3 separate regions of the Homo sapiens genome follow, and regions 1 and 2 are each linked to region 3. Evidence: promoter capture Hi-C in human tissues and cell types (Jung and others, 2019). All regions are on one chromosome and are shown on one strand. Each heading gives the region's core, a stretch centred on a gene start or on the middle of the fragment in contact. The rest is flanking DNA. Distances are from core to core; before and after follow the strand shown. Region 1 overlaps TOM1L2 (target of myb1 like 2 membrane trafficking protein). Region 2 overlaps TOM1L2 (target of myb1 like 2 membrane trafficking protein). Region 3 holds the start of MYO15A (myosin XVA).

The links. The method cuts DNA at HindIII sites, captures the fragments that hold promoters and counts their contacts. A contact is called where the count stands out against the background at its distance.
Region 1: a fragment that was not itself captured here is called in contact with the fragment with the promoter of MYO15A in region 3 in 2 of the 25 tissues and cell types used here (dorsolateral prefrontal cortex and mesendoderm cells).
Region 2: a contact is called between a fragment that was not itself captured here and the fragment with the promoter of MYO15A in region 3, in 2 of the 25 tissues and cell types used here (dorsolateral prefrontal cortex and spleen).

The regions. Positions count from the first base shown.
Region 1 is chr17:17,852,880-17,856,100 of GRCh38, reverse strand. The region is part of intron 12 of TOM1L2 (target of myb1 like 2 membrane trafficking protein); the gene reads left to right. Among named protein-coding and RNA genes, the nearest start is that of SREBF1, 18 kb to the right of the region's middle. The HindIII fragment of the contact is 7,112 bases long and covers 1-3,221 here.
Region 2 is chr17:17,884,789-17,888,253 of GRCh38, reverse strand. All of the region lies in intron 4 of TOM1L2 (target of myb1 like 2 membrane trafficking protein), which reads left to right. Among named protein-coding and RNA genes, the nearest start is that of SREBF1, 50 kb to the right of the region's middle. RefSeq lists enhancers at 2,674-3,433, 3,434-3,465. The HindIII fragment of the contact is 4,674 bases long and covers 1-3,465 here.
Region 3 is chr17:18,106,833-18,110,219 of GRCh38, reverse strand. It overlaps MYO15A (myosin XVA), which reads right to left and starts at 1,464. Exons shown (of 66, transcript NM_016239.4): 1 at 1,396-1,464. DRG2 (developmentally regulated GTP binding protein 2) reads right to left here. Exons shown (of 13, transcript NM_001388.5): 13 at 2,251-3,066. The coding sequence ends at 2,980. It overlaps LOC105371566 (a long non-coding RNA gene), which reads left to right. Exons shown (of 3, transcript NR_164159.1): 3 at 1,585-2,529. RefSeq lists an enhancer at 2,521-3,168. The HindIII fragment of the contact is 16,274 bases long and covers 1-3,387 here.

The DNA.
Region 1 (3,221 bases), core at 166-2,665, 250 kb after region 3:
CTGTCTCTGCCCACACAGACTGCCTCGCCACTGCCAGGTCCCACGTAGAGCTCCAGTCTCTAACTTCCCAGAAACAAACCTAACTAACAGCTAACCTGGTGTCTTGCCTGACTGACTGCAGTTTGTTTTTTTTTTTTTCTTTACAACAAATATTAATTGCTTTGCCTTATTTCCCATAGTGTAGAAACCTTGAGTCTTTTCAAGCCTCCTGAGTACAAATTCTTTACTTGGAAACTTTTTGTACTATTGAGTGAGATCAAAGGCTTTTAGACTTGGTCCCAGTGGGGTGGTGCTTGAAGTGACATAGGAAGGGATTCACAGCTTCTCTGGAAATAGTACACCTGAGCTACAGAAATTGTTCTTGTTACATTGAAAACTGGACAGGTGGGTTTCCTTGTGGGCATGGGGCTGTGGGAAGCTGCAGAGGAGCATCTGTTGGAACCCTTATGCTCCTGGGACTCAGGTGTGTGGATAGCCAACACAGAAGTTAACTGACACCACCAGGCTTATTACTGGTTGAAGAGAAATGAGACTTGTCAATGGGCTAGGGCCGGGCGGCTCTCAGGGAGACTGCTAGGCTTGTGCTCTCCCTCCCTGGCCTCTCTAGTGTGAGGTCTTTTTGCCTCTCTTGGCTGGTGATCAGCTAGGGGTGTCTCCCTTTTGCAGGGTGCAGCCAGGAAAATATCCTCATGTGAGAGAATCTAAGTCAAAACAAGAACAGAGGTAGGTTAGTAAAGAATGCTGCTGCCAAAACCCAGGCTTGGGTTTGGAGGGCGGGACTCCCTCCTCAGACCTGGAGGCCCCCAAGGCTCTTACTCTGGAAGGATAATCCTAACCCCTGGAGTACCAGACAGACATGCCTCTCCCCCTTGGGCAGGCAACCCTCCCTCCTGATCCCTGAGGCAGAGCTGCCCCTGCCTGCAGTTCCAAGTGAGAATCAGCTGACAGCAGGATGGCTCACCTGCCACTCAGATCAAAACCTGTGGCTTCTGACATCCAAGATGTCTGTGGACTTTGAAAATGGGCAGGGCTGGTCTAACCACTGCCTCAGCCAAGCCAGCCTGGCCTACCTATCTTCAGAGGGGCTGAGCTTCAGGCAGCAGTCTCTATTGGAGGGCATTCCTCTGCTAGCTTCCTTCCTTTTCTCTCTTCACATGTCTTCTTCCTTTCTGTCCCTCTCTTCCAACTCATACGCTTCTTCAGATCCCTCAGACCAGCCTTCAGCTTGGATCATTGCCCAAGAAAATGCTGAAACTATGGCATGTCAGGCTGGGTGCAGTGGCTCACATCTGTAATCCCAGCACTTTGGGAGGCCAAGCTGGGCAGATCATTTGAGGCCAGGAGTTTGAGATCAGCCTGGCCAACATGGCAAAACCCTGTCTCTACTAAAAATACAAAAAAAAAAAAAATTAGGCAGGTGTGGTGGCTCACGCCTGTAATCCCAGCTACTCAGGAGGCTGAGGCACAAGGATTATCTGAACCTGGGAAGCAGAGGTCGCAGTGAGCTGAGATCGCACCACTGCACACCAGCCTGGGCAACAGAGCAAGACTCTGTCTCTAAATAAATTAATTAATTAAATAAATAACTAAATAAATAAATAAAAATAAAAATAAAACTATGACACATCAGAGCCAACAGCCTTCTTAGGAATCTGCTGGGCCAGCCCCTAGTCTGACAGATGAGGATACCGAGGCCTCCTAAGGGCCTGGTGTCTTGCCCAAAGCTGCAGGGAAGAAACAGAGTCCCCTAAGACTCAGCGCAGTGCCCCCTGCTCCAACCAGGGCCCCACTTCCCTCCCATCAGCCTGACAAGGAGCGCGTCCTCGGCCTCCCACAGTTTCTTTGGTTCATATTTTCCAAGCAGTGTACATGTTTAGTCTGAGTCTGATAGCACCTACATTATTAGAAGGAACTTTGCCCTGTTATAATACTCAAGGCATTTATTTACCAGGACAAGAGGTTTAGATAGCTAAGGTTTTGTGTCTGGCCACAAGAAAGTCAATTTAAGCTTACGTTATATAAGCTTAACTGTTAACCATCACCCTGCTCCACCATGGTTCACGCCCTGAGGCCAAGTGGCTTCTATATTGTAATGAGTCAGTTTCCATAATTTCTGACATCCCTGGGTTTCTGAATTAGAAAACAGAAGCACCAACCTGAAAGTTAAGGTTTCTGAGTCATAAGAATTGAAAGCCAAATACAATCTAGCAATCGCCTTATTTCACAGATGAGGAAATTGAGGCCAAGCATTGCTCAGGCCTCTGTCCCCTGCTCCTGCCTCTCCACCCAAATCTCTAAGGCTTCTTAGGATAGAAGAAACTCAGGAGCTCTCCGGTGAAGAAAGTGGGGTCCAGAGAGGAGCGACTCACCCCAGGTCCTGCCACCAGTGAGTGTGAGGGCCCAGATGGACCCCACCCAGTGCACTCTCCTCAGCGTGCCCTCTAGGGCTTGGTCTGGAGGATGCCATTCCATAAACATACTACTTATTTGGAAAAATCTAGGACATGGAAGAAAAGGGTTCCCATGAGCCAGCTTTTGGGAAGTTATTTTTGAGGAGGTGAGGAATTTCTTAAGTGTCATTGTTTATTTTCTGAGCATGTTGGCTCTCAAGATTTATCCCCAAAGAAGAAAATTAAAGTATGACCCCAGGCCTCAAGGGATTTGTTCTTTAGCAGCAACAAAACAATTACAAGAAAAATCTGAAGGTTTAAGGCCCCTGACCCCTTAATGTCTTTGTTGTAGCTTTTGCAACACATTGGAAAGCTCAGGACATCTAGTCTGTTTCTGCTAAGTGGACAAAAGCTGGTCAGGTGTAAAGAAAGGGCTGGTGCACACTCTAACCGCTAGTGTGGGACTATTTTCTCTCTGGAGATGCTGCTGACTTTCTAAGCTTCAGTTTTGGGGACTCAGCATGGCATGCGTCCTCCCAGAGGCCACACATTCTGACTTACAGTCATTGAGAGCATGATAACTGGTGTGTCCTGTTCCAGGAATGTCTCAAGGCAGAAGGCCTGCCAGCAAGCACAGAGTAGCAGTGTACCCTACTGCCTTTTGATGGGCAAGGGCAAGGAAGTGCCAGCCTTAGGCATTGTTAACACATCTGTCAGTCATTTGTGCGTCCATCCCCCCAGTGAGGACCCACATGCCTCCTGTCCCTAGGTTTCATGTCTGGGTGATAAGACTCCCTGATACCTTTTCAATTCAATGTTCTTTTTTTTTTT
Region 2 (3,465 bases), core at 313-2,812, 220 kb after region 3:
GGTCTTCCAAGCCCCTAATCTTGTAGCCACAGGCAGGAAAAGAAGGCTTCCAGTGAACTGACCACTTGGCCATTAACCAGCTAGCTCCTGTGACAGGCCCTCAGAGTGTGCTCACACCGCTGCATCACTTTGCTTTCTGAAAAGGCAGCTTTAAGAGGGGGCAGCCTCCCCCACCCTCAGTGCTGCTCTCAGGCTTCAGGTTAAGCACTCCAAGAGTGGCCAGACCTCCTGAGGCTTGCCACATCTTCTCTAGGGAGTATTCTCAGCTGGGTCAGCCTTCCAGCACCCCTCCTTTGTCACTGTCACTTCAGTCTGTTGACAGCCTAAGTGGCCATCTTTCCTCTGTTCTCTGAAGTAGGAAAATAAGGATGCTTAGTAACTGTGAGAACTGAATTCAGTTTAACCTGATAAATGTTGACTGACTGCCTTCTCTGTACACGGGTGAGAGACTCGGTGTCTGCCTTCAAAAGGTGTCTGGGCTGGGCGCAGTTGGCTCATGTCTGTAATCCCAGCACTTTGGGAAGCCAAGGTGGGTGAATCCCTTGAGTCCAGGAGTTCAAGACCAGCCTAGGCCACATGATGAAACCCCATTTCTACAAAAAATACAAAAATTAGCCAGGTATGGTGGCACATGCTTATAGTCCCAGCTACTCTGGAGGCTAAAGTGGGAGGATTGCTTGAGCCCGGAGGCAGAGGTTGCAGTGAGCTGAGATGGCACCACCATTGTACTCCAGCCTGGGGGACAGCTCTGACCCATGCCCAATTATTGAGGCATGTCCCAAGAAGATGCTAGGGACACATGGCATCTCTGGATGTCTCCCATCTGTACGTTTTCACATATGAATGGGAGACACCCAGAGATGAGAGACACCCAGAGCTGCATTTATTCAGAGGCGCCCCTGCACCCCATTTTTTCCTCTGTTGGCATGAGAATCCTATTCAATAGAGATTGCCATCATGAATATCTGCTCTGTTAGCAGCCATCTCATCCAGTCTGCACAGAGGTCCCAGATAAGGGTTGGAATTGTGGCAGGTAGGAAGCGGGTAGATTAGCCAAGACTACTTGATCGCAAATAACAGATGCCAACTCCAGCTTGCCTAGGCAAAGAGAAGAGTTTGTCATGACAGGGCAGAGTCTCCCAGAAGTCCAGGTCACCCCGCCCTGGGAAGGGACAGAAAATATCAGGAAGGCCTTCCAAATCCTCTCCTGTACGCCTGCACCTCCGAGCACTCTAGCTGCTCCTTCTGGAGAACATAGGCTGTCTCTGCTTCCAGTCCTGTGCTGGCACATGGCCCTGGAGTTACAGAGGACAGTTCTGCCTACCCAGTGAGAACATCCCAGCTTCTAGTGCTGCTGAGTTCCTGGAAGGAGGAGCATCTGATTGGCCCAACTTGGGTGTGCATTTCCCTCCCACTCCAGTCTGTCTCTGTGAACATGGAAGCAGAGTGCCTTAGAAAGTGGACCCGAAGAAGTATCCTCCAACTGGAGAGAAGAGCCATAGTTCTTTCATCTTTATTCCTATTATCTCAAATTTGGCTTGGGTAGAGAGCTAGATGAATTGAAAGGAATCCCTGGAGCTGTTGGTACTCCATGTACAAAGGCATGAAGTGGTGCCAGGAAGAACTGCCATGTGTTTTTTCCCCAGCCTCCGACAGTGGGCTGTGAAACTGGTTTTTAGACCCTAAAGTCAACACCCTAAACTAAAATGCTAGGGCATTTTGAGGTTGGCGTCACAGGACTTAGCTGGATTTTGAACCAGGTGGAGGCAGCCAGCGCAGCTGGTGGGGGCGGGGCCAGAGGCACTCCCTACGGGCAACCTACTCTCCTCCAGCTGGGCCTTCCAGACAGTGCTCTGTGAGGCACTTTCTTTGGCCCTCCTCAGAATCCAGAAGGAGTGTTGGCCAAGAGGGGCTGTCCTGATCCAGTAGTTTTAAATCCCTGAGCATGCAAATTAAATAAGTGCATCAGGGAAAGCCGGGCTGACAGTACTGTTCCTGGTGAGATGCATCAGTCATAATTAAGGAGGCTTTTTGGAAACTGACCTTTTAACTTCAAATGGGTCTGTTGGTTAGAGACAGAGTTTCTGTGGCTGCCTCAGGATTGGTTGTACCACATTGCTGGAGTGAGGGAGACAGTTAAATTCTGTGACAATGACAGACTTGGCAATGGAGTCATGGGCACAGGAGGCTCTGCCTCCTCCTTTGGGTATGTATGGTGAATGGGACAGCATGAGAAGGGCCATTTCTGGGAAGGCCTTTGAGTATTCTGTTTTTGATACAGTCCAAGACTTCCAAAGAACAGAATTTTTTTTTTTTTTTTTTTTTTTTTGAGACGGAGTCTTGCTCTGTCGCCCATGCTGGAGTGCAGTGGCGCCATCTCAGCTCACTGCAAGCTCTGCCTCCCGGATTCACACCATTCTCCTGCCTCAGCCTCCTGAGTAGCTGGGACTACAGGCACCCGCCACCACGCCCAGCTAATTTTTTTGTATTTTTAGTAGAGATGGGGTTTCACTGTGTTAGCCAGGATGGTCTTGATCTCCTGACCTCGTGATCCGTCCGCCTCGGCCTCTCAAAGTGCTGGGATTACAGGCATGAGCCACCGCACCCAGCCCAGAATTTTTTTTTTAATTTTTAAGTTTCATGAGTCAACAGAAATGATAATCTACTTGAATTTTTGCTCTTTCCTCTCTGTGATATGTTTTCACTGAAGGGAATCTGGTGATTGTGCTTTTCTTGGGATTTTTCGATTTGGGCACACATGTGCTGACATTTTTGGCAGCGGACATCATGAAAGAAGCTTGGGTCTGGGAAAAGGACCCCTGGGGGTGAACTCCCCAGTCTGGCCTGGGTCTAGCTCCCAATGGGCTCTTCTTCCCTTGAACCACAGTCATCTCACCTACTGGCAGCAGCGCTAGACAGAGCTAGGCTAGACAAGCTCAGCATTAGTTGTCTCTGATCTGAGGAAACCTGTAGTTAGCCTTTACTTCATGTCACACATCAATTTCTCCTTTCCTTTCTGCTCAATTTGTTGCCGGTTCCCAACTCCACCAGTAGAAGCTTTCAGGGCAGAGGTGCTCCCGCACAGAGGGCAGGCACCCTGCTGAGCTGACAAGGCTCCAGCTTCCACTCCCTGCAGCTGAACAGCCCCAGCAATTGATTTCCTTGCCATTAGGGAAATTCCTGCTTTTTAGGATGCACCACCGTGCATAGGTGTTATTTCTCTGTCTCTTCTCCAAGGAAATACATGCTAAATTAAGTTTTGTGTTTTTGTTCACGCTCAGCAGCACCATTGAAAGCCAGGGTTTCACCAGCTGTGTCGTGGCAGCAGTTGCGGAAGGAGAGGAACAGAATAGGTTTAGCCAGTGCAATTTGCATGTGCAAGTAGGAGAGCACTGGTCTCGGGGAGAGGACGTGGGCCACTTTGGATTTTCAGATACCATGGCAGCTCTGAGAAATGCTTCCTAA
Region 3 (3,387 bases), core at 215-2,714:
GGCTGGCCCTGGTGAGAGGCTAGATGGGGCTGGGATGAGGGTGGAGACAAGTAGTCTTGGGGTTGGCTTGGTGCAGCTGGGGGGTGCGGGGAGTGTCTCTGAGGTGAGGCCGGGGGTATGGGAACGCCATGTTTGGTCTGGGACACGGTGGGCTTGGGATGGCTACAGGACAGTGCAGTGGAGAGTCAAAAAGGCTGCTCGGACCCAGGTCTGGCGAGATGGAAGCTGGAGGTCAGGTGAGCTGTCTAGGAGAGGGACAGAGTGGGAAGGAGAGGGTCTCGACTCGGCTTTCTTGCCAAAGGAGGGTTCCGAAATGAGAAACTGTGGAATCTAAGCTGGAGAGGAAGAAAGACGGAGAATGAGTGAACGCACACGTGTGGGACAGATAGATGAATATTCATGTCTTTGGCTCCTATGTACCTGAGTCTTCTAAAGCTGCAGGCCATACTACCCCCGGGAGGCTGCAGGGATGCCAGCTGGGAGATGAATGCAACTCTGCTGCCTGGGCATGGGCCTGAGTGAGGGTGCAGACCCCTGCCTGTGATCATCAGGGAGGGTGATGAGAACAAGGTGGCTGACAGGGTGAGGCCCAAGCCTGGAGCTTACCCAGGTGCGGGGATGGGAGGGTCAGAGACCTTTGGGGGGTCTTAGGGAGCTTCCCCAGCCCTAAAGGCACCGCAAGCTGCCACTTCACACTGACCTGGGCATACGCAGCTGCAGGATCCCTTGCTCGCTCTCTCACAAGCAAATGTAGACTGCGCAACCATCCTGACCACAGATCCAGAAAGCCCAGGACATAACAGAGCCGCAGTGCCTGCCCTGATCCACGCGCACACAGATCTAGCCCAGGAACAAGCCCATCCACGGTGAGGAACTTGTGGCCCAGTGGCTGGAGCCTCTCACCTGAGCCCTCACTGCCTGAGGACCCCCAGCCTCTGGCCTCATTTCCCACCCTTTGCCAGCCAGCCTTGGGGACAAAACAGGTCTGGATCTAATCCAAGGTCTGGACTCACCCTGACACCCTGTGAACTCAAGGCCTTCCCTACCTCACCCTGGGCCCAGAGCCCCTACCTGTAAAGTGGAAGTGGGAATGGCCACCAGCCAGGCAGAAACCCTCACTTAGGGCCTCATGGCCAGGCATCAGGACAGTCAGGAGAGGGGCCGAGGTAAGCCACAGAGGCCCTGCCTGTCTTGGTATCCCACCATCGCCAGGAGGGGACTGCATGGGCATCACACCCCTCACAGATGAACAAAGTGAGGCAGAGAAGGGCCTCAAGATGAGTTAGGGGCGAGGCCCCAGCTCTGCTGCTGCCCCTTCCCTTATCACCCCTGCAGCCTGGGATGCGAGGGTGGCCAGTGACAGACCCCAAGGACTCTAGGCTAAGGTCTCCTTACCTGCGTTCTGTGGCCTGCTCCCCGCCTGCATGCCGCCTCATGGGGGTCCTCTGGCTGGCCCAGGAGCACGGTTGGCCCAGCAGAGCAGCTCAGTGTTATGGGGAAGGGAGGCCCAGCCCACCACGCCGACCGCCTGGGGCCCTATGTATATTTAATGATGTCTATTATTCCTGTTTTGTCTCTGGAAAGGAGTGAGCAGCTGACAGGGGAGCCACGAACAGCCTGGAGAGCTGAGCATGGGCCTGCTCCACACTCCAGCGGGGCCCGAGGCCCCCGGGAACTCTACCCCTCCTGGCAGCCTCACAGAACCTGCTGCATCCATCTCAAAAGGCATACCTCCTCCAGGAAGCCTTCCCCGCTGCTCAGAGGTCTTAAATCCGGGGTCTGCACTCACAAACTGTGCAGCCTACACCAGCTTCTGGGGGACAGCAGAACACTGTGGGGGGCCTGGCACAGTCCCTGGCACACGGTAGGCACTCATCGAGCCCCTGCCAGCCCCTCTACTCCTGACTTCTGAGGCAACAGGAAATGACCCGCCACCTTGTTCTCACAGAGCCTCCCTGCCAGCCCAGATGGTCACAAGGGCCTCCTGGGATGCTGCCCACCTTGGCAGCCAGGCCCCTCCGGAGGGGCCAGTCTGGGCCTGACACCCCCGAACACCAACCCCCTGGGCAGAGCCTGCCTGTGCCTGGGTGAGGAACCCTGCAGTCTCCTTGCCACACAAGGCCTGGGTCTGCCTTGGGGCCCAGGCTGCACCCTCTCCGACCCCCAGGCCCAATGTCTGACCTGTGCCCACCTGACTCAACCTGGCTACTGTTCAGCAAGTTTACAAAGTGTTCTCAGTCTGAACAGGAACCGTTTTCAATCCTTTATTTCAGAAAGGAGAGCCAGGAGAACTGGGGACTTAGAAAATACAGATCCTAAACTCAAAAGTCCCTGCCCCAGGCGTGCAGAGCCAGGGTCCTGGGGTTTTGTGCTGGGCAGGGGCTGCCCTGGGAGGGGGAATACAGGGGGAGGCACTTTAGGACACCCCTTAGGCTGTGGAGGGTGTCAGCTGGGCCTTTGAAGCCACTAACCACTGGTTCCCATCATGGAGAGCCCTGTGTGGGGCACCCAAGGGGGTTTCCTCCTGGAAGGGCCCCCAACCCAAGTGTCAGAGAAGCTGGCAAGAGCTGAGGGAGTGAGGTGCCATGACAGCAGCCACAGCCTCCAGGGACCCAAACAGGCCCAGCTACCAGCCTGGCACTGAGCATGCCATCTGCTTTAGGCCCTGGCTGGCGGGCATGTGGGCAACTTGCTCCCTCAGTGCAGGGGGCTGGGAGGCACAGATGCAGGCTCAGCACTACAAACTCAAAACCCCCATGAGAGGGCTCAGTCTTATGGGAAATGCCTCCAACCGAGCCCCTTTGCCCCAACACACTCTTCGTCTGCCTACTGAAGAAACTTCTGTAAATAGCAGAGACTTGAGGGACCCCTTCCTGGGGTACGTGTATTTGTATTTTTCTGTTTGGGTGTTTGTGTGTCCCAGTGGGACCACCTCCCCAGGGAGACGAGGCAGGTGGGCGGGAGGCCCGGCAGGCGCCGTTACTTCTTCACGATCTGGATGACGTCCTCATGCTCCATGGTGTGGGTCAGGCCCACCCGCTGCGGACTGTACTTGGTGCTGGTGCCCTGGGTGAGGAATGGGGGCAGAGGGGTCACCTCAGCCTGGACTGGCCAAGGTCAAGGAAGATATCCCTGGGCGTGTGTGTCCTGAAGGGTAAATGCCATGGCATAAGGTGGGGGCCTCAGGCAGCAGGATGTCCGCAGTTGTCTGACCATCCCTGATCTCAAAGGTTGGGGAGGGCCAGGCACAGTGGCTAATGCCTGTAATCCCAGCACTTCTGGAGGTCAAGGTGGGAGGATCACTTGAGCTCAGGTGTTTGAGACAGCCTGGGCCAGATAGCGAAACCTTGTCTCCATGAAAAATTAGCCAGGCATGGTGGTGTGTGC